7 separate regions of the Homo sapiens genome follow, and regions 1, 2, 4, 5, 6 and 7 are each linked to region 3. Evidence: promoter capture Hi-C in 16 types of primary human blood cells and fetal thymus (Javierre and others, 2016). All regions are on one chromosome and are shown on one strand. The core of a region is centred on a gene start or on the middle of the fragment in contact, and the rest is flanking DNA. Distances in the headings are between cores, read along the strand shown.

Region 1 (3,850 bases), core at 192-2,691, 290 kb before region 3:
ACCAAAACAGCTCCACTTCCGGTCACCCGTGGTGACCCCATTGCCACATCCACTGGCCTCCTTTGCTGTCTGGGCTCCAAGCATCTGATGCTGCCTGTTTCCCTCTGTTCCTTTCTGGAATCTTCCTTTCTCCTCCATCCTCTCTGATTCTCCTGTGATCTTTGCCTTTCCTACCCCACTGTTAACAGTGAAATTTCCAGGGCTGTCCCAGTTCCAAGTGAGTAGATGGGGGTGCCGGGGAATCTGTGTTTTCCATCAGCTCTTCAGGTGATTTGTCATAGTGGACAAGCTTGAGAAACTGCTTTGGCTGCGAGTGTTTCTTTTTTTTTGAGAAGGGGGTCTCACTCTGTCACCCAGGCTGGAGTACAGTGGCACAATCACAGCTCACTGCAGCCTTGACCTCCCAGGCTCAAGCGATCCTCACACCTCAGGCTTCTGAGTGGCTGGGACCACAGGCAGGCGTCATCACATGGGGTAATTTTTTTTTATCTGTAGAGTGGAGGTCTTGCTATGCTGCCCAGGCTCGTCTTGAACTTCTGGCCTCAGGCAGTCCTCCGGCCTCGGCTACAGGCCTGAGCTGCCACACCCAGTCTTGCTGGTGTTTCATAAGGTCCGGCCCCTCCCGTCGGCCTCAGGTGTATGACTTGTGAGGCCCAGCGATGGGCTCGGAAGCTCTTGGTCAGTATCCCCCAAACTCTGTTCCCCCTTGTAGGTGTTCCTCTTTTTTCTTTGCTGCAGAAGAGTGTGTGACTCACAAAAAGTTGAGGACTGTTCCTTGATGTCCTCCCAGGCTTCGCCCACCACCTGGCTCCTGGTAATGCAAGGAACTGTGTTTCCATCCATTCCCTTCCTTTCACTGCAACTCCAGCCCCACGTTTTGAACTACCTATTCGAGATTTCTGTCTCTGGACATCCCTGTAATGCCTCAAACTCAACTCGCCCAAAAGAGAATGTGCCATCTCCCGTCTCCAAAGGCTTTCATGCAACCTTCTTCTTTGCAGAGCAGCAAAAGCTACCCCTGTCACAGCTGCCCAAGCCAGAAACTAAGACCAGAGCCGCTTTCAACTCTGCCCTCTTCTTCCCTTATGGCCACAAACCCCAAGTTTCTCTTCTGTGGTGATTTCAGATCCGCTTCTCTCACTTCTTTTTCCCTCCTTCCCACCACTTCTTGGTACTGCAGGAGCTTATCCCAGAGTCACAGACTCAAATGCCTGCAGGGGCCTGAGGGAGGGAGGTGCACTTGGCATCTCAGGAAGGGGTGTGTGGCTGGGTGTGGTGGCTCCCGCCCGGAATCCCAGCACTTTTGGGATTACATTTTGGCCAAGACGGACGGATCACTTGAGCCCAGGAGTTTGAGACCATCCTAGGCAATGTGACAAAACCCTGTCTCTACCAAAAAAATTAAAAATTAGCCAGGCCTGGTGGTACATGCCTGTAACAGTCCCAGCTACTTGGGAACCTGTGGTGGGAAGATGGCTTGAGTCCGGGAGACAGAGGTTGCAGTGAGCTGAGATTACCCTCCAGCCTGAGCAACAGACCCAGACCTTGTGTCAGAAAAAGATAGGAAAGGTTGTGGGGGGCCCCCAGTGATCTGGGGCATGTGTGCGCTGCCTGAAGGGTGGCCCTTGCCCAGTGCCTTCCCCTTGCTGCCCTGTCAGAATCTAGGGCCACTGTTGCCAGAAACTCTGAGAAGCTAGAAATCGAGACTTATGTGAAATCTGATTTTTAGGTGCCAGATTAGATTGCTTTTTCCGTTTCATTGATTTCTACTCTTAATGTTACTAATTCATGCTTCTACTCACTTGGTTTTTTGTTTGTTTGTTGTTTTGTTTTGAGATGGAATCTCGCTCTGTCACAGTGGCGCAATCTCAGCTTACTACAACCTCTGCCTCCCCGGTTCAAGTGATTCTCCTGCCTCAGTCTCCCAAGTAGCTGGGACTACAGGTGCCCGCTGCCACACCTAGCTAGTTTTTGTATTTTTGGTAGAGACGGGGTTTCACCATGTTGGCCAGGCTGGTCTCGAACTCCTGGCCTCAGGTTATCCACCTGCCTCAGCCTCCCAAAGTGCTGGGATTACAGGAGTGAGCCACTGCACCCGGCCCCTTCTACTCACTTTGGATTCAATTTGCTAGGTTTCATGCTTTAGCTTCCCTGGCACACCCCAACCCCAGCTTTTTAAGGTAATTCTTTTTTTTTTTTTTTTTCCAATTTTCTACTAAAATCTTTATTTTACAGGATTAATGTTTCACAGCAGGGATTGAGATGATTCTTAACCTTTCTCTTTGCTTAACAACATTTAGAGTTGCCAGTTCACTCCAGCATCACTTTAGCTACATCCCACTGGGATATGTTGTTTTTGTTATCATTCAGTTTAAAGTGTTTTCCAATTTTCCTTGTGATTTCTTCTTTGACCTTTCTGTTATTTGGAGGCAGGTTGCTTAATTTCCAAATATTTGTGGGTTTTTCAGATATCTTTTTGTTATTGATTTTTAATTTAGTTCTGTTATGGTCAGAGAACATACTCTGTATGATTTCAGTTCCTTGAAATTCGATGAGACTTACCCGACGGGCCCGAATGTGTCCTAGCTTGGCGGAAGCTTCTGGGGCATTGACGAGGACAGGTGTCTGCTGCTGTCAGGCAGAATGTCCCCCCAGGTCAGTGAGGTCAGGCTGGTTGAGTGTTCAGGCTTTCTATTCTGATTTTTGTTGTTGTTGTTTACTTGTTCCACCAATCAATGAGAAAGATGTCCATGTCTCTCACTATATTTGTGGATTTGTCCATTTCTTCCTTCAGTCCTGGCAGGTTTCGCTTCTGAATTTTCTCTTTTTTTTTTTTTTTTTTTTGAGACAGAGTCTCGCTCTGTCACCCAAGCTGGTGTGCAATGATGTGGTCTCGGCTCACTACAACCTCCACCTCTTGGGTTCAAGCAATTCTCGTGCTTCAGCCTCCCAAGTCGCTGGGATTATAGGCATGCACTGCTATGCCTGGCTAATTTTTGCATTTTTAGTAGAGCCGGGGTTTCGCCATGTTGGCCAGGCTGGTCTCAAACTCCTGGCCTCATGTGATCCACCCTCCCAAAGTGCTGGGATTACAGGCGTGAGCCACCCCACCCAGCTTCTGAATTTTAAGTTTCCTATGGAGTAACTGAAGTGCTTCTGTGGAATGAACGTGGCCTTGGTCCTAATGGGTCTTCCTGTATTTCAAATGTGCCATGATGGTCTTCCGAAGCCACAGGCTGGACAGCATTACCGCCTGCTAATGTCAGGGCCTGGATTCAAGGGCCTGGGACTCTGGAGGAGGAGGAGATGCGGTCCTGACCTGCGAGCAGAGCACACAAGGCCTTGACAACCGATCTTTACAACCTTTTCCCACCCCTGCATACCCTGAAATGGTTTTCAGGCCACCATTTCTGGGATCTTCCCAGCTGCCTGCCTTAGAGTCTTTCTCTCAGAAACCAGCCCGAATGTTTCCTGGATCTCTGAGGATTCATCCCACCCCCATTCCCATGCAGAGGCCATGGCTCGGCGCCTGGCGTTCCCGAGGCACTTTGTACCATCTTCAGTGATGACACGAATGCAATGGGGTTAGTGCCACTTGCCCACAGTGGTGCTGCGAGTGCCCATGGGGCGCACCGGGGCTGCTTCCACCCTGGACCCCAGCCTGGCGGAGGGCCTGGCACATAGTAGGGCGGGGAGTAGGTGTGTAAGAAGTAAGCTTGCTCTGGAGAGGATGTACCTGCAGCCGGCGCCCAGCTCTCGAGAGGACTGTGGGAGGGCAGAGGCTGAAACGAGGCCGCCTGCCGAGTTCCTCCACAGACCCCTGGGCGAGGAGCGCTCTGCTGGGGACTGC
Region 2 (4,112 bases), core at 1,239-3,738, 480 kb before region 3:
AGGCAGCTGAGATGGGTCCTGAGCCATCTTTTTATCCCTTTGGTGTGAATGGGACAACGCGACCATTTCACAGATGAAGAGCAGACACAGAGCCGCACAGCTGGGGAGTGGCAGGGAGGGGTCCCCCTGGGCCTGATCTTGCCCTGGGTGATGCAGGGGCCAGGGCAGGACTGAGAAGTGCCGGGTCTCTGACCTCGTAGGGCCCACACGCTGCCAGGGTGGCCGAGTCTGTGGTGGGGCAGCCACGGCAGAGTGATCAGGGCTCACATGAGGGAAGCGTAGGGCCACAGGGGAGCACAGAGGAGGGGCTGGCCCAGCCTGGAAAGTCAGGCCAAGTTTCCCAGAGGAAGGGCCACGAGAGCTGAGGCTTGAATGACAAGTCAAAGCCAATAGGTAAGCAAGGAGAAGCCAAATGTTCTAGGGAGAAGGAACAAGGTTTTCAGAAGCCCAGAGACTGTGTAAATTTGAGCCAGAGATGGGGGAGCCTGGAGAGAGACATGGTCCTGGGCTGTGTCTGTGGGGCCTTGAATGGCAGGCAAGAAGTGAGGACTTTATCCCGAAGGACTGGGCCTCTAACCTCCAGGACCCCAAGGCGCAACTCCTTTTCTCTGCCCCTAGTCCCTCACTCCTCTCAGAGCAGGAAGCAAGTTCAGCATCTTGCAAACAAAACCTCTCTTTGTCCAAAGGAAACAGCCCATTGCAAGCTCCGAAGGCCAACACAAGGGACTGGTGGTGGGTGCTCTGGCCTCTGGCCTGCCTGGCCCACCCCTCCTCCCAAAGCCAGAGACAAGCCCCGGGGGCATCACACACTTTGACTAAGGTTAACTGAACACCCACTAAGTGCTAGGCAGCATTCTAGGCGCTGCAGACACAGCAGTGACCCAAACAGACAAAACCTTGCCCTCATGGAGGCGACATTCCAGTGGAGAAGACAATCAGTCAACCCAGCCAGTAAGTAGGTGATTAAACAGTAAGTCAGGCGGGGCAGGGCTGGGGAGTGCTGGAGAAGGGGCATGCAGTATTAAACTGGGGGGTTAGGGTTCCCTGGGGTGCAGAGAGGTGCCCTGGGAGTGGAGACTGAAGGTGGTGGAAAAGGGAGCCGAGCTGGCTGGGGGAGCGGGGAGGCGGGGGGACATTCCAGGCAGCAGGAATCCAGGAAACCCATCCAGGAAGGGTGCAGGTGTCTCCTCCAGCCCCCAGACTCTGGGTGCTCAAATTAAGATGAACTTTGAGCTGGAATATCTCCCACATCCCACCCAGGACATTTCTCCTTTTCTGACTTTCTTTATTAATCCTGAGACTGGGGGACACCCCCACTCCGCCAGCGCACACACACACACACACACACACACACACACAAAACCCTCCCCAGCAATCTCTCCTCCAGTATGTTTTTCCCCTGATCTGTGAAACCCCCAAAGACAAGGGTTAGGGATGGGGTCTCTCTTGGTCACCAGTGTGTCACCAGAACCTACCATAAGGCATTTAAAAGCATAGGTTAGGGCTGGGCACAGTGGCTCACACCTGTAATTCCAGTACTTTGGGAGGCCGAGGTGGGTGGATCACTTGAGGTCAGGAGTTCAAGACCAGCCTGACCAACATGGTGAAACCTTGTCTCTACTGAAAATACAAAAAAAAAAAAAAAAAATTAGCTGGGTGTGGTGGTGTGCACTGGCTGAGGCGGGAGGATCGCTTGAACCCAGGTGGAGGTGGAGGCTGCAGTCAGCCAAGATGGTGCCACTGCACTTCAGCCTGGGTGACAGAGCAAGACTCTGTCTCAAAAACATAAAAAAAATGAAAAAGCATAGGTCAGATCTCATCAGATTCCTGATTAAAAGCATCCCTGGGTCCCCCTTACCTCTGGGATGAAAACTGACCTCCAAGCCTCCTCCTAAGAGGCCCCCACAGCGGCCTCTCTCTGCTCACCCTGCCTCCTCCTACACTGGCTTTGTCTAGCTCACTCCACACCGAGGGTCCAGCCACACTGGCCTCTCTGCTGTCCCTGGACCACGCCAAATGCCTTCCCACCCCTGGGTCTTTGCATCTGCTGTTCCCCCGGCCTGGAATGCTCTTTCCCAGACGTACACACGGCTGGCTCCTTCCATCATTCAGGCCTCAGCTCCAATGTCACCTCTGCAGAGAGGCCTCCCTAGCCACTGTCCTCAAATCAGCCCATGGGGCTCAGCCACTCTGCGCTACCTAAAGCTGGGTAACACAGATCTAACCCAGTTTCTCAATCCAAAATTATCTTTTATTTATTGCTAGTTTGTCGCCCATTTCCCCCCTCTAGAATAGGCCAGCACACTTTTATGATAAAAGGCCAGATAATAAATATTTTAGGCTTTCAGGGCCACACTCTGCCACAACTACTCAAAGCTTCTGTTGTAACATAAGAACAGTCATAGACAATACACGAACCGGCGAGCTGGCTTTCATGAAGACATTATTTATAGACACCGGAATTTGAATTTTACATGATTTTCACACCTCACAAAATTTCCTCTTTTGGTTTCTTTTTTTCTAACCACTTAAACATGTAAAGACTATTTAGATTGTAGGCTGTGCCAAAACAGGTGGAGGGCCAGATTTGGGCCCAAGGGTGAAGCTTGTCAACGTCTGCCCTAGAACATCTGTTTTATGAGGTCAGGGATCTCTGTCTTGGTCATTGCTGTGTCCCCAGGCCCTGGGATGTTCCCGGCATGTAGTGGATGCCAAAGTTGAACAAATATGTGCTATAGAAAAGGCTTCGACACATTCATTAATTCTTCCAACAAATATCCATTGAGGTTTGCCGTGAGCTGGGCTCTGGGGAGATAGCAGGGAACATAATTTGAACGTGGGGCAGTGAGTTGACATCCTTGCATTGAATGACTTGTGTTCCTCCAGAGCTGACCTGGCCCCCCGACAGCCACTACGAGCTGTGTGGCTTCTCCTGTCCCAGCTCCTGCACCGAGCCTGCCCTGCCCGACAGCTGTCTGACACCATGCCAGGATGGCTGCCAGTGTGACCCAGGATTTGTGCTCAGTGGCACGGACTGCTTGACCCCCATCCAGTGCAGCTGCTCCATGGGGGGCAGATACCACCTGGCCGGGGAGCCATTCTGGGCTAGGGAGCACTGTGAGCAATTCTGCCACTGCGAGGCTTCCACCCATGCTGTGTGCTGCTCCCCCTCCTCCTGTGGGCCAGGGCAGAGATGTGGGACCCTAAGGGGCATCTTTGGGTGCCACCCATTCTCCCCTGGCACCTGCCAAGCAGCCGGGCACTCACACATCATCACCTTTGATGGGAAAACTGTTGAGTTCTCAGGTACCTGTGTGTCCGTCTTTGCCGAATCCTGTGGCTCTTCCGGCTCACTGCCATTCTTCAGGATACAGCTGTGAAAGGAGAACAGATCCAGCAGCCCCCTCATGCTCATCTTGGAGGTGTCTGTCCAGGTTAATGGGACCCAGGTCCACCTGCGGAGGGACAGCCCAGGCATGGCTCAGATAAGCACCAGCTTTGGGACGTGTCGTTTCTAGGAACCCCAACCCTTCACCCAAACCCATAGGCCCAAGGGAAAAACTTATTCTGTCTCCATTATTTCTACATTTTACCTCTATTTTCTGATTATATGCCCATTTTTGACTATATCCATCAGATGCATTCAGCTAATATAACAGAAACACTCTCAGACCAGCTTAAGAAAAAAAAGAATTACTGATTTACACAATTGAAAAAAAAAATCTACAGGTGTATGGATTCAGGCATAGCTGGACCCAGGTGCTTGAACAATATGTCTCAAATCTGTCTCAATTTCTGGGCTCTCCTTTCCTTCATTTTCAGACAGGCACCATCCCATCCCACCTTGTAGGGACAAGGACAGCTGCCAGGTTAGCAAATGTCACTGGAGGAAAAGTGTCCCTCACTGGCCCAGCTTGAGTCATGTGACCACCCCTGAATCCCTGATGGACTAGCTGATTGGCTGGGCCTGGGTCATGTGCTGGAAGTTAGGATAGGATTGACTTTCTGTGAACCACATGGATTGATTTTGGAGGGGTGAGTTCTCAGGGAAATCCAGAGAAAGGAGAAATGAATGCAGAACAGGATAAAACAAGAGATGGTCACTATTATAG
Region 3 (3,834 bases), core at 1,323-3,822:
AGCCCCCTCCCATGTCCCTCATGTCCCACACTCGCCTGCTCTGTCTTCTCAGTGTCTTGTGTTTCTGTGTATATTTCATATCCTCTGGCCCTGAATCCTCAATCTTCCATGTCCCCATATCTGTGACTTGTGCCCCAAATCACTGTGTGCCTTGGTCTGACGTGTTCCCTTCTCCTGTGTCCCCAAGCCTTGCATTCCCCATGTCCACTGTCCCATGTCTCCTCCTGTCCCCATGGCCTGTATTCCCCGTGTCTCCAGTTTCACATCCTGGGTTTTCCATAATCTGCTGCCACCCTCTGTGTGTCCCCTGGGCCCCCTTGTCCCTGCATCCTCACATCCCCGTCCCTGCGTGTGCTGCAGACCTTGTACGTCATGGTCTGTGTCCTCTGTGGCCACGGCCCCCATGTTCTAGCTCCCCAGTCACTGTGTCCCGTGTCTCCCATGTCTGTGTATCTCCGAGTTCCCATCCTGTGTCCCATGGCCATGACTTTTCGAGCCTCTGTCCCATGTCACATGTCCCTGAGTCCCCATGTCCCTTGCCCTCATCTCTGCCATATGTCCAATGTCCCTTGCCCTGCACCTCCATTTCCTCTCTGTCTCTGTGCTTCTATGTCTCATGTTTTGTGTCTCTCTATGTGCTGTGTCCTGAGGCTTGGGTCCCTGCCCTGGTGTCCTATGTCTGAGTCCCAGGGTCTCCTATTCCCCGTGCCTCAGTCTGTCCTGTGTCTGCACTGCATGTCCTCTGCTTCCAAGTCCCATCTCTTTTTTTTTTTTTTTTTTTTTTTTTTAAGATGCAGTCTCGCTCTGTCGCCCAGGCTGGAGTGCAGTGGCATGGTCTTGGCTCACTGCAACATCCACCTCCTGGGTTCAAATGATTCTCCTGCCTCAGCCTCCCAAGTAACTGGGATTACAGGTGCCCGCCACCATGTCTGGCTAATTTTTGTAATTTTAGTAGAGATGGGGTTTTGCCATGTTGGCCAGGCTGGTCTCGAACTCCTGACCTCAGGTGATCTGCCCGCCTCGGCCTCCCAAAGTGCTGGGATTACAGGCATGGGATTACACGCCCGGCCTCCAAATCCCATCTCTTACGTATCACATTGCCATACTCTTTATGCCCCCACCTATGTCCCCATACCCAAGATTCACCCCAGTGTCCCTGTGTCCTGTGTCCTTGGGTCTGCCCCATCCATATCCCAATGTCCTTCACCCTCCATGACCCCTGTCTTGAGACTGCCTTTCGTGTTCGTCTATCCCCATCCTTCTCTGCCCCTCTTGTCCCAAGTCCCAGGCTCAGTGTCTTCCATCCCCAGGTCCCCATGTCCTGAGCCTGTCCCCACAACATGGCTCACATTGTCGTCGGTGGTGAGGTCCCCCTCACTAGCCTGGATGGCAAAGGCGATGAGGCAGATGGCGGCGGCAACCCACATGAGGCACTGCAGGCCCCCGGCCAGCTGCCTCGCGAACTTGACGTACTCTGGGGTGCCCCGTGGTGGCCGCAGTGCGTTGGGCCCATCCCGCAGCAGCAGCTCAGCAGCCAGGCTCGCAGAGAGGCCCTGGGACAGAGGGGCAGGGCGAGGCGGTCCTGGGGGCTTTCCTCCACATGCACACCCCGTGGAAAGCCCCCTGCTTCAGTTTCCCTTCTCCAGCTTGGTCTGTCCTGCTCCTTCTCATCTCTTTGTCTCTTGGTTCCTGCCCCCACCCCATCTCTCCCTCCCTCCTTCATCTCTCCCTTTGTCTCTCTCTCCTCGCTCCCCTTTCTATGTGTCTCTCTCCTGCTGCTCTCTCCTTATTTGTCTCTGCCTTCTCTGTCTTGCTGTCTCTTTTCAGCTACTCCTCTCTCCGTCTCTGTGTGTCACCCTTTCTCTCTAATGCTTTCTCCCTTCTCTCCCTCTCCCTCTCTCTCCCTCTCTCCATCTCCCTCCCTCTCTCCTCCCCTCCCTCCATCCTTTCCTCTCTCCCTCCCTCCCTCTTTCCTTTTCTGCCTCCCTCCCTCTCTCTATTTCTCCATATCTTCCTCTCTTCATCTCTCCCTCTCTCTCCCTCTCTCCATCTCCCTCCTTCCATCTCCCTCTCCCTCCCTCTCTCCTCCTCCCCTTTCTGTACGCTCCCAGTCTCCAGCTCACCTTGGTGGCACTGGTCTGGTATTTCTGTTCCAGCTCCGCCACTGACAGCTGGTGGTCGTTCTGTGTGGTGGGGTGGGGCAGGGTGCTTGCTCTGGGCTCTCCTGGCCCCCTCCCCGCCCACTGCCTGGTTCCCAGCCTACCCTCCAGCTCCCGCCCCTCCCCAGTCAGAGCTCACAATCTCCATCTCCTTCTTCATGTTCTCCAGCTTCTCCTTCCTCTTGCCACCCCCGCCACCCGCCTTCTTCTTCTTGCTCATCTTGGCAGCCATGTCCCCGCCAGGGCCAGGACCCAGCTCCACCGAGTAGAGCTCATAGTTCTCCTGGGAATGGACAGGATGGAGGGAGGGAGAACTCAGATTCCACTGCAACCCCTGTCCCCACTGCACCCCGGACCCCTGGGCCCCACTCACGGCCTTCCCCATGGTGCCCGGTGCCTGTGCTCCCACCCAACAGAGCCTGGGCCCGGACCAGTCCTGATATACCCAGGGAGGGCGGTGGGGTGGAGCAGAACCGCCCGACCACAGCTGATTACAGGCTCCTTGGGGTGACCTCTAGGCCTGGGCACCTCAGGCATTCCCTCCTGGGCTGGCCCCCCCCTCCCCTGCCCAGATCCCCCCATGTCAACCTGCCCTGAGATCAGGGAGCCCCTGGGAACCGCTGCAGCAACAAGAAGAGCAAACATAAGGTGCTCATTATGCGCTGGGCATTGTGCTGACGGCTTCCATGTGCTAACTTATTTAACCTTCCAATAACCCTTTGAGGGGACAAGACCCTTTACAGATGGGGAAACTGAGGCATGGAGGGGTTGAGTCATTCTCCTATGGCTCCATCACAGGCTAGGACATAATGGAGTGAGAACCAGATCAGCTGGCTGCAGAGTGTCCTCTTTCAGTCTAAATAGCACGTGCCTGATCAACTGGAAGAGGAGGGTGCTCCCACACTCTTTTTTTTTTTCTTTTTTTTTTTGAGATGGAGTGTCACTCTGACACCCAGGTTGGAGTGCAGTGGTGCAATCTCAGCTCGCTGCAACCTCCGCCTCCCGGGTTCAAGTGATTCTCCTGCCTCAGCCTCTTGAGTAGCTGGGACTACAGGCACATGCCACCACACCCAGCTAATTTTTGTACTTTTAGTAGAGACGGGGTTTCACCAGGTTGGCCAGGCTGGTCTCGAACTCCTGACCTCAGGTGATCCACCCGCCTTGGCCTCCCAAAGTGCTGGGATTACAGGCGTGAGCCACCATGCCCTGCCATGCTTACAACACTCTCTATGGTGGCTGAATGTTTACTGAACTCTGACTATTCACTATGGGCTGGGTGTGCTCTGTGTGTCACTCAAATGGTTTCCTTAGCATCTAACAGCAGCCCTGTAAAGCAATATTCTCTTCTTAGCCCCCATCAGGGACTTTGCAGAAGATTTCAACGTCTAAGAATTAGGGACAGGGTTCCAGCCCGGGCTTGACCCCAGGGCTTGACCCCAGAGCCTAGCTCTTCTATGGCACCACCAATGGAAAAACCCAAACTTCACTGCAGCAGCACCACACACATGCCAGGCTCTGCACGTGTGACCTCACGGGTCTTTGCAAAAAACCCTGTGCAGGCAGAACTATCATTCCTGTTGTGCAGAGGGGGAAACTGAGGCTCACAGGGACTCACATATCCAGCTACAGACTTTACAGCTCTCAACCATTCCCCGTCCCTACCCTAGATGGGGAA
Region 4 (3,622 bases), core at 350-2,849, 400 kb before region 3:
TGGAAAGTCCAGAAGTAGCCAACTTCAGGCATAGCTGGATCAAGGCGAGTAAGCACTGTCATGAGTGCTTTGTTCCCTCTCTTGGTTCTGTTGTCTTCATTCTCTACTAACTTCTCCCCTCTTGATGGCAGAGATGGTCCCATAGTTCTAACTTTAGGTCACATACGTGGTGGCTAGAGAACAAAATCTTTCCCATTATTTCTAGCCTGAGGCCTAGAATTGACTCTCATTGGTTCAGCTGGAGTCACATGCTCATGTCTGAACCAATGAGAGCCTGAGAAATGAGCTGCTCTCATTGGTCAGGCCTGAGTCTTGTGCCCCACCCTGGGGCTAGAGAAGAGGCTCAGCCAGCCATGCCTGAACCACATAGACCAAGAGTCAGGGAAGAGGGGATTTTCCTTTGGACAAGTGAGTTAGTATTACCAGAAGGTGTGGGAAAGGAGACTGAGCTGAGATAAGGCAACAGATCGCCTCTAATGCCTGCGTGATGATCCTTATTTGAGGGGCAGCCCCACACTGGAAAGTGTTGTAGAGTAGGCCACTCCCAGAGAGACATGTACAGTTGTGCAGACTGGGTACTGAACGAGAGCACCACCTCTCGGGCAATGCCATTCCCTTTGTCGGTCTTTATAATTGTTCCAGTTTTCTAGTGATAGCAGCAAAGCATCTCATTCTTACAGAATCTATCTATTAAAACAATCCTACAATGGATGGAAATAAAGTGCTTTACAGAAGGGAACTTTTCTAGTTTGTACAAAAGTGCACCTGTAGGGGTGGGGGATAGCAGCTGTGTCCACACTTATCAATGATAAAGCATTCTCACATCACTGCATTAATTTACTGAGTCTTTGCTGACCTGAGTTGCTCTATGTATTGGTCCATGTTCCTGGATATATGTGACAGAAATTCATCAAGGACAAATGGCTGTCACTGCTGAGCCTCTGGGTTGCCTAGAGGCTGGGCATGAAAGCCCCCAGGGCCTCTCTTCCTCCTCTATCTTTGCTTCTCTTCCACCTAGGAAGGAAATGGCTCATGTTATTTGAGCCTCCTAGCTCAAAACTTCCAGACTTCACCTAGGGTTTTAATCTGCTCAGGTTACGATAACAAAATACCACAGACTGGATGGCTTAAACAATAGGAATTCATTTCTCCCGGTTCTGGAGATGGGAAGTCCAAGATCAAGGTGCCAGAAGGGTTGGTGTCTGTCGAGGGCTCCCCTTGGGTCACAGACAGCCATTCTCTTGCTCTGTCTTCACCATGTCCTCTCCATGTGTGGGTGGGCTTGTGAGCTTGAAAGCAAGCTCTCTGGTGTCTTCTTATAAGGGCACTAATCCCATCATGAGGGCCCCACCCTCATGATCCTATCTAACCCTAATTACCTCCCAAAGGCCCTCGCTCCAAAATACCATCACATGGAATTTGGTGGGGTGGATAGAATTCAGTCTATAGTACCTAGCTGTCACTCAATATCCCTACTTGGGATTTCAAAGGTCTCAGGGAAGGACCAGACTGAGGTCACAAGCTTCCTTTTGTAGCCTGGGTTATAACTGGGGAAGGGAGGGCAATGTCTTCCCACAAAGAAAGGGAGAGCTGTTCCAGAAGGAGGAAGAGTGCTGAGCAGACAGTAATAGCAATGGCTGACTTTTGCTGAGAGCTTGTTCATGCTGGGCACTGTGCTAAGCTTCTGTGTATTCAGTCATTTGATGCTTGTGATCATCCTGTGTGGTGGGAACTGTCATTACTCCCATTTTACAGGAAAAGGAACTGAGGCCCAGAGAGGTTACTCAGCTTGCCCTAGGCAATACAGCCAAGAGTGGCAGAACCGGAATTTGAGTCCAGACTGTCTCACCCCAGGGTGCATGAGCACCACACACCAGTATGGCTGTCCTTCGCATTCCTGTGGTCTCTGCCGTGGATCTGGCTTATACCTTCCTCTGGGCAATGCATTCCCTGAATATCTTGTAATCCTTGGTTGCCAGTTCCTATTTAGGGTGTGGGGCACTGAGATAATTCCAGGGAACTTGGGTTTCACGAGGGAGCTTCTCTGTCTGCTGGCTTCTTGTTGAGGCCTCCGATGTGGTGTGGGGGCACTTCTCAGTGCTTGGGGGAGGCCTTTTCTTTGGAGGTACTGATTTTTTTTTTTTTTTCAAGAGAAGAATCCTTTGGTATTTTCGGTCTGGGGGCAGAGGTGATATTCAGAATAGTTTTGTTGTTGTTGTTGTTTTTGAGACAGAGTGTTGCTCTGTTGCCCAGACTGGAGTGCAGTGGCGAAATCTTGGCTCACTGCAATCTCCACCTCCCGAGTTCAGGCAATTCTCCTGCCTCAGCCTCCCAAGTATCTGGGATTACAGGTGTGTGCCACCAGGCCCAGTTAATTTTTGTATTTTTAGTAGAGGCGGGGTTTCACCATGTTGGCCAGACTGGTCTTGAGCTCTTGGCTTCAGGTGATCTGCCCGCCTCAGTCTCCCAAAGTGCTGGGGTTTACAGACATGAGCCACTGCACCCAGCCAATATTCAGAATGTTTTACAAGTTTCTCCAGACTATGTAGCTGGGTCAGAGTCCTTGGCAGGTGTTGCCCTTTCGTTCCTTTATCTCCTGGATTATAGTGTGGGCCAGAAGGTCCTAGGAGAGGGGTCTGGAGTCCCTCGGGGATTGAGGCAGATCAGATAGTCGCAACCGGGGCTATGTGCTTATTTCAGCATTTCAATGCCTGTCATTACTTATTGCCTCTAGGTGTGGAGTAGGGGGGATGCCTGACCCTGCACACCAGCTGTGTAGATGTGGGAGAGGGGTTTCTTCCAGATGCAGACTCTCAGTAATATCCCTTGTTTCTGCCTCCATGGCTCACTCCTGCCCTCCACTGATCTGGCCACTCTCTCAGCTCATCCCACTGATGACACCACGACGCTCTCTGAGAGACCATCCCCAAGCACAGACGTCCAGACAGACCCCCAGACCCTCAAGCCATCTGGTTAGTAACTGCCTCCCCAGACTGGAAACAGGCTATTTTCTGTTCACTGTGTATTTCCAGCACCTGGAGTACAGCCCAGCACAGAATAGTTCTCAGTAAAGACGTGATGGGAAAGTAAATGACTTCAAGCCAGGCAGAGGGTGGGCACATGATAAATGTCTGAATAGATAAGTGAATGCATAAATTATTGCTGCATACAAACCACCTAAAAACTCAGTGGCTTAAAAGGATAACCATTTATTTAGCTCTCATTTCTGCAATTTGGAAATCTAGGGTGTGCTCAGCTGGCTGGTTCTTCTGGTTTCAGCTGGACTTACTCATGCGTCTGAGGTCAGTTGTGGGTCAGCAAGGACCTCTGTTTCTAGGGGCAATTTGATTCTTTCCCTGGTGATCTTATCCACCACTTCCTGCCCAGTCAGCCCCCCAGTGAATGAATGGAAATGATACGCCCATGGGTCACATAGAGAGCCCATTCATCCATTCATTCAACAAATAGTCACTGAGTACTTGTGTGCTAGGCTAGTTCTAGGGGACAGAGATAGAGTGGTGAACAAGCCAGAAAAAATCTCTGCCCTCATGGAACTACTATTCTAGTGGTAAGAGAAACACAACAAGAAATAATCATAATTATGTATCAGTTGATTTCAACT
Region 5 (3,761 bases), core at 374-2,873, 400 kb after region 3:
TCAGCTTTGAACCCCAAGCCTGCTTGGGCTGCTGGGAAACAGGCATGTTGTCTCAGAGGGCACCGCGCTCGGCGAAGACTCAGCGAGACTGGACGCTGACCATGGTTCTGAACACACTGTGCTGCGGGACCTGGGCTTTTCCTGTAACCCTGAAATCCCATTCAACCTCTTACGGTCCTGAGAAACAACGGAAGACCAGGGAGATGAGAGAAAAGTGAGGGAATGCTGAGAGAGAGAGGCTGGGTTTCTTAGAAATGAAGACAAGGACTTCAATTCATTTATTTATAACAGCTCAGAGCTGGACTCTGGAGCCAAGAGTCCTGGATGCAAATCCTGCTCCAAGCTGTGTGATTCTGCATAAGTCAATTCATTTCTCTGACTATCTACTTCCCCTCTATTAAAGGTGGATAATAGTATGAACATCATAAGGTTGTTGTGGCATTTTAAATTAAATTATTTATTATTCCTATTATTATTTAATAGAAATAGAGATGGGGTCTTGCTATGTTGCCAGGCTGGTCTCAAACTCCTGGGCTTAAGCAATCCACCCACCTTGACCTACCAACACACTTGGATTACAGGCATGAGCCACTGCACCTGGCTCTAATTTTTTATGTTTATTTATTTATTATTATTATTATTTTTGATATGGAGTCTCACTCTGTCGCCCAGGCTGTAGTGCAGTGGCGCAACCTCGGCTCACTGCAACCTCCGCCTCCCAGGTTCAAGCAATCTTTCCACTTCAGCTTCTCTAGTAGCTGGAACTACAGGTGCCTGCCATCACTCCTGGCTAATTTTTGTATTCTCAGTAGGGATGGGGTTTCATCATATTGGCCAGGCTGGTCTTGAACGCCTGACCTCAAGTAACCCACCTGCCTCAGCCTCCCAAAGTGCTGGGATCACAGGCATGAGCAACCGCGCCTGGCCTTATTTTTATTCATTTATTTATTTATTTATTTATTTATTTATTTATTTATTTTGAGATGGAGTTTCATTCTTGTTGCCCAGGCTGGAGTGCAATGGCAAGATCTTGGCTCACTACACCTCCACCTCCCAGGTTCAAGTGATTCTCCTGCCTCAACCTCCCAAGTAGCTGGGACTACAGGCACAGGCCAGCACACCCACCTAATTTTTGTATTTTTAGTAGAAATGGGGTTTCCACATGTTAGCCAGGATGGTCTTGAACTCCTGACCTCAGGTGATCTGCCCATCTCGGCCTTCTAGAGTGCTGGGATTATAGGCATGAGCCACCACACCCAGCCTTTTTTTTTTAATTAAAAAAAAAAAGTAGAGATGGGGCCTCACCATCTTGCCCAGGCTGGTCTTGAACTCCTGGGCTTGAGTGATCCTCCTGTCTTGACCTCAGAAAGTGCTGGGAGTACAGGCGTGAGCCACTGCACCCTGCCAGCGTTTTTTAAATGACTTCATAGAACACTGTCTGGCATGCAGTAAATATTTGCCAGTATTACTTTGCAGCAATTTTTTTTTCATTTTCTTCAGGCTAGGCCTGTTCTAGGCACTGCAGATGCAACAGTGAACAACACAGACAACATCCCTGCCCTCAGGGAGCTGACACTCTAGCTCAGTCCATACGAAAACTCTATATTCCATCTTTTTTTTTCTATATTCCATTGTGATAGAAAATATGCAAAGTTCTACAGAACACAAGATTATTCTTAAAAGTTCACTTTGGGGTCAGGTGTGGCGGCTCATGCCTGTAATCCCAGCACTTTCGGAGGCCGAGGTGGGCAGATCACCGGAGGTCAGAGTTCGAGACCAACCTGAGCAACATGGCAAAACCTCATTTCTACTAAAAATACAAAAATCAGCCAGATGTGGTGGTGCATGTCTGTAATCCCAGCTACTTAGGAGGCTGAGGCATGAGAATCTCTTGAACCCGGGAGGTGGAGTCTGCAGTGAGCTGAGATCACACCACTGCACTCCAGCCTGGGTGACAGAGTGAGACTCTGTCTCAAAAAAAAAAAAAAAGTTCACTTTGTAGGTGGCTAGCTTCGTGCACTGATAGCAATGAATAAATAACATCCCTTCCTGGGAAGAAGGAAGGAATATATGTCTCCAGTTCCCCACAGCATACACACATGCGCACGCACACACGCGCACACACACACACACACACTCTCACATCCTACCCTCAAGTCTGCTTAATGTGGCAAGTTGAAGTCCTCGATGGCCAGAATCAATGCACCATACATTTGCACTGGCATAGAGATGCTCACATAATTGAATCTGGCTGTCTTCAGATGCAGCCTGTGCTCTCGAGCTCCCTACAGACCTATTCTACACCCAGGCCGTGCTGATCATTTTGTCCCTCAGTCCCACTCTTTTCTTTCTGCTGATACATACAGACCCAGTTTATTTTAAATTGGGAACACTGATAGCTTCTGAATGTTGAGTTTCCAGTGCCAGGGACCCTGGAGGCCCGGGGTATGAAGGCAGGTCGGGGATGAGGCTAAATTCCAGGATCCAATTATATTGCATCCTTCCCTCATCTCATCTCTAAATATTTTGACTGAGGAGGAAGTGAGCCCTTTCATAGAGTCCCATCCCCTCCTAGTCTTCCCTGGTGATGCCACTCCAGTTCCAGGTCTCCTGTGAGGGCCATACATGCTCTGATGGGACCACATGTCAGCTTGTGAAGCACAGACTTAAGTGTGTGGCTGGGCACAGTGGCTCACACTTGTAATCCCAGCACTTTGGAAGGCAGAGATGGGTGGATCACTTAAGCTCAGGAGTTGGAGACCACCATGGGCAAAATGGCAAAACCCTGACTCTACAAGAAATACAAAAATTAGCCAGGTGGCATGCACCTGTAGTCCCAGCTACTTAGGAGGCTGAGGTGGGAAGATGGCTTGAGTCCAGGAGGTGGAGGTTGCAGTGAGCTGAGATCGCACCACTGCACCTCAGCCTGGGCAACAGAGCCAGACCCTGCCTCAAAATAAAAAAGAAAAAGAAAAAAGAAAAAAACAAAAAACAAAAAAGTAATTTAAAATCTAAATAAATAAATAAATGAAAAAGGCCTAAATGTGTGCCCACCACTCAGGTCACATGTGAGTCTGAGACCTTGTCCAGTTCCAAGATGGCAGGACTCCAAAACACCGTCCATCTTCAGCTCTAAGACCATGGCAGTGGCTGCATCAGGACCAAACAACACACCTGAAGCTGAGCCAAGGCTTGTGCCTGTGCTCCTGGGGGGACCTGAGCCTGAACCTGTGGCCATGGCTCATCTGGGGCTTGCACAAGTGACCGTAAATGAACCCTGCCCTGAACCTGTAGCTGCAGCCGCACCAGTGCCTCGACTTGTGACTGTGAAAGAACCACTTCCTGCAACTCTGGCTGTAGCTGAACCAGCACCTATACCACCTACCAAACCCATAGCTAACCATTGTCTACAACCATGTCCAAAACCAAGACAGTATCTGTGTCTGGGTCAGAACTGTCTCATGGCCAAGCTGGGGCTCAAGGTGGTGACAGTGACTAAACCAAGCTTAAAGACTCTGGCTGTGGCAAAATTAGGACTTGACTGTAGCAAAGGACAAGGGGCCATCACAGGGGCTACCACCTGAGCCTCTGGGCTACCATACATCTAGACTTTTTTTCTTTCTTTCTTTCTTTTTTTTTTTTTTTTGAGAAGGAGTTTTGCTCTTGTTGCCCAGGCTGGAGTGCAATGGCACGATCTCGGCTCATTGCAACCTCTACCTCCCGGGTAGAGGTTCAAGCTTGAAGGTTCTACCTTCAAGCGA
Region 6 (4,012 bases), core at 167-2,666, 430 kb after region 3:
GGAGGCCGAGGCGGGCAAATCACTTGAGGTCAGGAGTTCGAGGACAGCCTGGGCCAACATGGTGAAACCCTGTCTCTATTAAAAACACAAAAATTAGCCGGAAGTGGTGGTGCATGCCTGTAGTACCAGCTATTCAGGAGGCTGAGGCAGGAGAATTGCTTGAGCCCAGGAGGTGGAGGTTGCAGTGAGCCGAGATCGTGCCACTGCACTCCAGCCTGGGCAACAGAGCAAGAGTCTGTCTAAAAAAAATAAGAAAAAAGAAAAAAGACAAAAAAAAAGATAAGGGTGTTTAGCAGAGTCAGCTAGATGGTGGGGATGGAGTATAGGAAGGACAGGCATGACTGAGTAGAGACAAGATAAAGGGTTATGGCCTGGTGCGGTGGCCCACGCCTGTAATCCCAGCACTTTGGGAGGCCAAGGCAGGTGGATCACGAGGTCAGGCATTCAAGACCAGACTGGCCAAGATGGTGAAACCCCGTCTCTACTAAAAATACAAAAATTAGCTGGCCATGGTGGTGCGTGCCTGTAACCCCAGCTACTTGGGAGGCTGAGGCAGAGAACTGCTTGAACCTAGGAGGCGGAGGTTGCAGTGAGCCAAGATTGCGCCACTGCACTCCAGCCTAGGTGACAGAGTGAGACTCTGTCTCAAAAAAAAAAAAAAAAAAAAGGTAACAGGTTATTAGCAGGGTCGGGAAATGAATGATGGTAATCTAGACTCTTGATGGTTACAAAGCAGAGATAAGTGATCATTTAAGCAATAGAGAGAAGGTGGAATTGATACTTTGGTAAGTCATTCCTTTCCTCACCTAGAATGTTGAACACATATTACCAATGTGCTAGTGACTGGCTATGATGTTTTTTGTTTGGTTGGTTTTTGTTTTGTTTTGTTTTTGGAGACAGAATGTTACTCTGTCACCCAGGCTGGAGCATAGTCATGTGATCACAGCTCACTGCAGCCCCAAATTCCTGGGCTCAAGTGATCCCCCCGCTTCAGCTTCTGGAGTAGCTGTGACTACAGGCATGCCCCACCATGCCATCCTAATTTTTGTAGAGATGGGGTCTCAGTATGTTGCTCAGGCTGGTCTCAAACTTCTGGGCTCAAGGGATCCTCCTGCCTTAGCCTCCCAAAGTGCTGGGATTACAGATGTGAGCCAACATGCCCGGCCAATTTAGTGTTTTATTTAGTGCTTTTCATGTGCTCAGCACTGTTCTGAGGAATTTTCATGAACCATCTCATCTAATCCTTATTGCAACTGTATCAGTCAGCTAATGCTGCATAACAAACAACCTCAAAATCTTAGTGACTTAACCCCAGGCAGCTTCCTAACTCATGTGTCTGTGGGTTGGTTGGCATTGGCCGATCTTAGCAGGGGTCATGAAGCACTTACCATATGCCTAGCATAGGTACTCTTTTTTTTTTTTTTGAGATGGAGTCTCAGTCTGTCGCCCAGGCAGTGCAATGGCACCATCTTGGCTCACTGCAACCTCTGCCTCCCAGGTTCAAGCGATTCTTCTGCCTCAGCCTCCTGAGCAGCTGGGACTACAGGCCTGCACCACCACACCTGGCTAATTTTTGAGTTTTTAGTAGAGATGGGGTTTCTTCATGTTGGCCAAGATGGTCTCGAACTCCTGGCCTCAAGTGACCCGCCCACCTCAACCTCCCAAAGTGCTGGGATTACAGGCATGAGCCACCGCACCCAGCCTGAAGTAGGTACTCTTGTCCTTCCATGTTACAAACACAGAAACTGAAGTTCAGAAAGGCTAAGTCCCTTGTCCAAGTCTCACCCTCATTTGTGGCGCAATGAGGAGGGACATCCAGGTTTCAGGGAGGCATGGGAGCAGGTTCAGCCTCCTCAGCCCCAGTCCTGACCCCTTACCTCCCCTGCAGGTGGATGGTGAGCACTACTGGCTGCCCTGGGCACTGCCAGGGGGCTGGGGTTGGCCGCCTTGGAGGGCCACCATGCCATGGTGCACATGGCCTGTGGGCTGTATCTCATGTACACCTGGGGAAGCTCATGGTGCCTTCTGAATTCTAAGGCGAGCTGGCGGGGCTCCATGGGTCCTTTGGAGGCAATGTTGGCCTACTTGACCTGCCTCTGGATACCGTGTCCTGGTCCAAGGGCCTGATCACTATCCACTGCCCACTGACCCAGCCCAACCATGGCTTTCATGTCAGCTGCCCACATGACTTGCCCAGATCTTCAAAGCTCCCAAACTGTGTGGCCTCCTGCATGTGCCGGATGGCCCCTTTAACCACTGTGTGGCCCACATCAACAAGCCCTTCCTTAGTATATGCCTGCAGGATGCGTGTCATCCCAGTGGCCAGCACCGTGGTCTCTGTGACACTCTCACAGGCCATACTGCAGCAGCCAGGAGCCTGGGAACCCTGTGATGCCCTGGAGGGGCCCCAAGCATTGCCATAAGTGCTCTGGCTTGGTCTGGGGTGCAGGCAGGGCAGACTATGGGTTGGCTGGAAGAGCCCCTTCCCCTGGTGGGAGTCCAGGAAGAATTCCTAGCATAGGTGGAATTGGTGGAGGAGAATGTGTGGGAAGAGGATCCAAGGGAAAGGGAACTGCAGCTACAAAGGTGTGGAGGTGGGGAAATACCAATGGGAAGCCAGGCTGACTAGGGGCAGAGGCGATGAGATTGGAAAGAGGAATTTGAGGCTGGGCGCGATGGTTCCTGCCTGTAATCCCAGCACTTTGGGAGGCTGAGGTGGGTGGATCACCTGAGGTCAGGAGTTCAAAACCAGCCTGGCCAACATAGTAAAACAGTGTCTCTACTAAAAATACAAAAATTAGCCGGGTGTGGTGGCACACACCTGTAGTCCCAGCTACTTGAGAGGCTGAGGGTGGAGAATTGCTTGAACCTGGAGGTGGAGGTTGCAGTGAATGGAGATCACACCACTGCACTCGAGCCTGGGAGACAGAGGGAGACTCCATCTCAAAAAAAAAAAGAAGAAGAAGAAAGGAAGAAGGAAGAAGAAGGAAGAAGGGAAAAGAAGGAAGAAGAAGGAAGAAGGAAAAAGAAGGAAGAAGAAGAAGACGGAGGAGGAGAAGGACTAGGAGAAGGAGGAGGAAGGAGGAAGGAGGAAGAAGGAGGAAGAAGGAGGAAGAAGGAGGAAGAAGGAGGAAGAAGGAGGAAGAAGAAGGAAGAAGAAGAAAAGAAATTTGAGCCCTAGGCATTTATCTTTGCCAACTGCCTGCAGCACAGACCTGCCCACCCCAAGGCCATTACAGCATCTGTGCACAGACCTATGATTTGGGGTGTGTCCTGCCTGCCAACCCCGCTCACTGTTCCTCCCGATGCTATGAGAGCTATGAACGTGGCCTCACCATTGATGGCACAGACTGTGTGTCCCAGGACCACTGTGGCTGCTTCCACAATGAATGCTACCTTCTGGTGAGAGGGATCTCCAGGCCTGGAAGGTGAGGACAAGTCTCCCAAACCTCATCATAAGATGTTCCCTGAATCACCAGTATATCAGTCAGCATTTTCAGTTGTAAATGACAGAAAATGATGCCAGCTGTCTTAAATACAGACGAGAATTTGTCTGCTTTTACTTATCTGTAAAGATGAGGCCTTCAGGTCTGGCTGGTTCAAGGACTCAAATGATGTTGCTAAGAACTTAGTTTCTTTCCATCTTTCATCCTCGCCTTTTCCTTTTTCTGCGTTAGCTTCTATAGTAATTAGGCTCCAGGTCCATATGGTAGAACAAAAGCTCAAAATTACAGTGGCTTAAGCTTTTTGTTTGTTTTTAGAGAGAGGGTCTCACTCTGTCACCCAGGCTGGAATGCAGTGGCGTGATCATAGCTCACTACAGCCTTGACCTCCTGGACTCAAGCAATCCCGACACCTCAGCCTCCCAAGTAGCTAGGACTACAGTTATGTGCCACCATGCCTGGCCAATTTTTTTTTTTTTTTTTTTTTTTTTTTTTTTTGTAGAGACAAGGTCTTGTTGTGTTGTCCCGGCTGGTCCTGAACTCCTGGGTGCAAGCAATCCTCCCAACCT
Region 7 (3,826 bases), core at 545-3,044, 420 kb before region 3:
TCAGCCTGGGTGACAGAGCAAGACCCGGTCTCAAACAAACAAACAAAAAATGAAGTTAATCATAAGACAATGTCAAGTTCAGAGACCTCTGAGCCCTGTCCAGGATTATACACGTGATCTTAGTGATTTTTCCATTTTGGAGCATGTGAAAATGAGGCACAGAGCTGCTCAAGTTCACACAACCAGGAGTGCAGTGCCTGGGCCATTCCAGGTTTCCCTGTCACCAGGACCTGTAAACCTGGCCTGCCCATGGGGACGCCAGGTGTGTTGTCCCCGACAAGAGCTCAGGGGAAGGAAAGTGTGGGGTTAAATACATATCTGTGGTTTTGGAATGTGTGAACATGCAAGTGTGTCAGCCTGCGCATCTGTCACCGTGGCCAACCATGTGCCTGTTTGCTCAAGCATAGGGTGTGAACCAGTGTGTGTGTTTCTGCTTTTGTGGGTATGTGTGAGAGCGGCGGGTTGTCCTTGATGGTGTTTCTGCTTGTGTATCTGTGCCCATGGAAATCTGTCTGTGTGTACACAAGCTTGTTGGCCTTCCTATCTTTGGGACCATGTAGGAGTGCTGGCTGCATGTCTGTACCTTTGGGGTTTTTTTGTTTTGTTTTTGTTTTTGAGACAGAGTCTCGCTCTGTTGCCCAGGCTAGAGTGCAGTGGCATGATCTCAGCTCACTGCAAGCTCTGCCTCCCGGGCTCAAGTGACTCTCCTGCCTCAGCCTCCGGAGTAGCCGTGATTACAGGCGCACGCCACCACACCCAGCTAATTTTTGTATATTTTTTTAGTAGAGACGAGCTCTCGTCGGGTTGGCCAGGCTGGTGTTGAACTCCTGGCCTCAAGTGATCCTCCCGCCTTGGCCTCCCAAAGTGCTGGGAGTACAGGTGTGAGCCACCGTACCTGGCCATGTTTGGCCATGCATCTTAGAATGCATTTATGTGCGGTGTGCACATACTTGTGTGTTTCTGTATGGCCATTTGTGGGTGGGTCTTCACATAAACATGCATTTTTGTGGCCAGTTTGTGAGTGTAGATGGTGATGTGGCTATGTCTTTGACTGTATCTCTGTGTGGCCATCCATCTACATGAGCGTGCGTGGGTCTGTGTAGACATAAATGTGCTTGTTCTGGTATTTTGTGACTGGCATAAAAGGTGTTGGCTGTGTGTCCGGGTCTTTGGGTTTCTCTATCAGTGTGTCATTCTGTGTGTGTCTGCTTCTATGGATGTACATACATACATGGTTTTGTCTGGTTTTGTACCTGTATATCTGGGTCTTTGGGATTGTGTGTGGGTGTGTGTGTGTGGTGCATTTCTGGGGATCTCACCACAGCAGATAGCGCACATGCGCGCGCACACACACACACACACACACACCTCCCTCCCGTCCTCTAAAACAGCCCTGTTAAGGACCTCACGGAGCACTGGGATCGGGGGTCAGTGGGCTCCTGGGCAGTCAGGCTGGGTGACCTTCGGCCCTGGCTGGACCCAGTTCCCAGGGGGCAGCCGCCTCAGCCCAAAAGCTCTTGGAGGCGTGTGTGTTTGTGTGTGTGTGTGTTCACAACCCTGTCCTCCACAATCCTCCTAGCCTCTCCAGCCTGCCTGCTGGCTGCCTGCTGCTGCTCTCTCTGAACTGAGAGAGTTAACCAAGCGGGCCAGGGCAGTCTGGGCTGGGGGCCGCCCCCTGGCCCCCCTCCAGCCCCAGCTCCAGTTTCAGCTGCTGGTTGGGGAGGGCATGGGTGGGGTGGGGCTGGGAGGGGAGGCTGCTGGGGGCGGCGCGTCCAGCTCTGGGCCAGGGGGTCCAAAGTGCTCAGCCCCCGGGGCACAGCAGGACGTTTGGGGGCCTTCTTTCAGCAGGGGACAGCCCGATTGGGGTGAGCGTCCCCCACTCCTTCCCTCCAGGCCTCACCCCTGGTCTGGCTGGGCCGCCTATTTTGGGAGCAGGAGTGGCCAGCCCGAGGCTTCCCAGGCAGGCCAACCCAAGAGGGAGGGAGTGTGGTTGAGGCAGTGGGTTCTGCAGGGTGGGATGTGGGTGACTCCTCCCTGCCCTGCTGGTGCGTGTGCACCCTGGCAGGGTGTGGAGTTGGGACACACACGTGTGTAGGGCTGGTTGCGTCACTGCGTGGGGGCACCGGAGGCCCAGAGGAGGAGTATTGGATGCCTGACGGTGTTTACACCCCACGTCCTGCTCCAACCAGCAGTTTGGGGAGAGGTTGTTGTTCATGTCCATTCCGGCCCCACTGTGTGTGTGTGTGTGTGTGTGTGTGTGTGTGTGTGTGTGTATCCCTGCCCCAGCATGTGTTTTCTATCTCTAAGGCCCACTGGGCTGGGCCTCATGTCACTTGCCTGACATCCGATTGTGAAAGATGTCACCCAGAGGCGGGCAGAGGGGCTGTCTTTTCCTTTTCTCGTTGCTGCCCAGGGAGGAGACGGGGTGACCTTTCCCACAGGGGCAGCCTGTGGCGATGTGGCAGCTGGGCCTCACCCCGGCAGGGCTGTGCGTGACCCCCTGAGTGGGGGAAGGCAGGCTGTTGCCATGGTGGCCTGAGCGAGCAGAATTCCTCCAGGGTGAAGTGGGAGATATTTATACCCGGGGTCAGGCCGCGAGCGGGCGGGCGGAGAGGGCAGGGAGCTGGGATTTCGCGGGGCACAGTGAGGCCGGGCATGTAGGCAGGTGGGACTTGGGCGTGCCCTGCTGTCTCCTGCTCTGTGTTTGTGTGAGGCAGCGCCTCCTCTGCCCTGCCAGGGTAGGTCTGGGAATCGGGGGCCTGCTGCGGGAGGTGGAGGCCCAAGGGAGGCCCCCCGGGGACTGTGTGTCTCACCCCCGTCCCTGCTACGTTGTGTTGTTGTGTGATCCCATCGTGGAGGTTGTTTTGGTGACACTGTGTCCCCACGAAGCTGGGGATACCCGTTTCTCTAGCTTGGAGCCACCAAGATAGAGGACAAACACTTCTGTGATTCAGTCCCCAGACTGTCTCTGACTTAATCCCTTGGGTTCAAGCCCTATGTGGGAGAGCAAGGGCACACACTGCCTAATCCGTGGTGTCCCCCCCAGGACAATGGCGTCTCTTGGCCACATCTTGGTTTTCTGTGTGGGTCTCCTCACCATGGCCAAGGCAGGTGAGTGCAGGGGAGGCTGCCCGCTACCCACCTCAGCCCCAGGGGTGGCGGTGGGGACCGAAGAACCAAGTTGGAGACCCCAACCTAGACTAAGTCGGCTGGGGTACCAAGAAGTTTGGGGGTCTCCACGTGGGGTCCAGTCACAGGCTGGTATTTGGGGGAGGGGAGAGGAAGCCCCAGATCAGGCAAAGATGGGGTGGGATGGGGCTGAATCCCCGATGGGATAACTGGGTCACAGACAGCCTGCCGTGAGTCAGGGAGCTGGGGCAGTTAGGTGCCACCTGCCCCATCTGGGACAGTGCAGAGGGGGCAGCTGGGACCCAGAGAGTGTGGGCAGCCTGCCCAGACACCCTCAGACTCTAAGCCCAGCAAGGCAGAGCCTCCAGTGGTCTCCTCATGCCCCTCCCTGCCAGGACCCCAGGAAGCATTCAACCCCTGATTTCTCTCTCTTTCCAGAAAGTCCAAAGGAACACGACCCGTTCACTTACGGTGAGCGGGGGGTCTAATTTTGAGTCCTGGGGGAGAGCCTGGCTTTGCTGGTCCTTTGATTCCCCCTCGCCCTCCCCCAGAGTCCCAGTATTGATATCTCTGTCATTCTCCTTCCCTCTATTTTGTCCTTCCTCTCTGATTCCACCTGTCTGCATCTTTTCCTGTCTGTGTCTATCTGTGTCACTGTCTATGTGATACCTCTCTGGTTCTCTTTCTCTTGCCTGCG

Evidence for each region. Contacts are between HindIII fragments. The CHiCAGO score rates a contact against its expected background, and 5 or more counts as called.
Region 1: a contact is called between a fragment that was not itself captured here and the fragment with the promoter of ATP4A in region 3, in 1 of 17 cell types (erythroblasts). The highest score is 5.5, in erythroblasts.
Region 2: a contact is called between a fragment that was not itself captured here and the fragment with the promoter of ATP4A in region 3, in 11 of 17 cell types (M1 macrophages, total B cells, M0 macrophages and 8 more). The highest score is 7.8, in M1 macrophages.
Region 4: a fragment that was not itself captured here is called in contact with the fragment with the promoter of ATP4A in region 3 in 5 of 17 cell types (monocytes, neutrophils, activated CD4 T cells and 2 more); the score reaches 7.4 in monocytes.
Region 5: a fragment that was not itself captured here is called in contact with the fragment with the promoter of ATP4A in region 3 in 1 of 17 cell types (M0 macrophages); the score reaches 5.5 in M0 macrophages.
Region 6: a fragment that was not itself captured here is called in contact with the fragment with the promoter of ATP4A in region 3 in 4 of 17 cell types (erythroblasts, M0 macrophages, M1 macrophages and 1 more); the score reaches 8.1 in erythroblasts.
Region 7: a contact is called between the fragment with the promoter of FXYD1 here and the fragment with the promoter of ATP4A in region 3, in 12 of 17 cell types (neutrophils, non-activated CD4 T cells, total B cells and 9 more). The highest score is 16.7, in neutrophils.

Annotation. Positions count from the first base shown.
Region 1 is chr19:35,273,246-35,277,095 of GRCh38, forward strand. All of the region lies in intron 7 of USF2 (upstream transcription factor 2, c-fos interacting), which reads left to right. Among named protein-coding and RNA genes, the nearest start is that of USF2, 6.2 kb to the left of the region's middle. The HindIII fragment of the contact is 2,308 bases long and covers 288-2,595 here.
Region 2 is chr19:35,083,646-35,087,757 of GRCh38, forward strand. It overlaps HPN-AS1 (HPN antisense RNA 1), which reads right to left. Exons shown (of 4, transcript NR_024562.1): 3 at 3,311-3,455. It also overlaps the pseudogene LOC100420797. Among named protein-coding and RNA genes, the nearest start is that of HPN-AS1, 21 kb to the right of the region's middle. RefSeq lists enhancers at 473-1,287, 2,574-2,623, 2,734-2,843. The HindIII fragment of the contact is 229 bases long and covers 2,375-2,603 here.
Region 3 is chr19:35,561,086-35,564,919 of GRCh38, forward strand. ATP4A (ATPase H+/K+ transporting subunit alpha) reads right to left here and starts at 2,573. Exons shown (of 22, transcript NM_000704.3): 1 at 2,533-2,573; 2 at 2,299-2,442; 3 at 2,124-2,183; 4 at 1,350-1,553. The coding sequence starts at 2,544. RefSeq lists an enhancer at 3,728-3,834. The HindIII fragment of the contact is 9,853 bases long and covers 1-3,834 here.
Region 4 is chr19:35,161,274-35,164,895 of GRCh38, forward strand. FXYD5 (FXYD domain containing ion transport regulator 5) reads left to right here. Exons shown (of 9, transcript NM_014164.6): 6 at 2,883-2,972. Among named protein-coding and RNA genes, the nearest start is that of FXYD5, 8.4 kb to the left of the region's middle. The HindIII fragment of the contact is 159 bases long and covers 1,521-1,679 here.
Region 5 is chr19:35,963,649-35,967,409 of GRCh38, forward strand. It overlaps LOC105372383 (a long non-coding RNA gene), which reads left to right. Exons shown (of 5, transcript NR_136525.1): 5 at 1-422. Among named protein-coding and RNA genes, the nearest start is that of LRFN3, 29 kb to the left of the region's middle. RefSeq lists silencers at 1-256, 6-206. The HindIII fragment of the contact is 3,759 bases long and covers 1-3,503 here.
Region 6 is chr19:35,987,740-35,991,751 of GRCh38, forward strand. No RefSeq gene overlaps it. Among named protein-coding and RNA genes, the nearest start is that of SDHAF1, 5.4 kb to the right of the region's middle. The HindIII fragment of the contact is 4,649 bases long and covers 1-3,741 here.
Region 7 is chr19:35,137,030-35,140,855 of GRCh38, forward strand. It overlaps FXYD1 (FXYD domain containing ion transport regulator 1), which reads left to right and starts at 1,795. Exons shown (of 8, transcript NM_021902.4): 1 at 1,795-1,865; 2 at 3,047-3,111; 3 at 3,568-3,600. The coding sequence starts at 3,051. The HindIII fragment of the contact is 25,239 bases long and covers 526-3,826 here.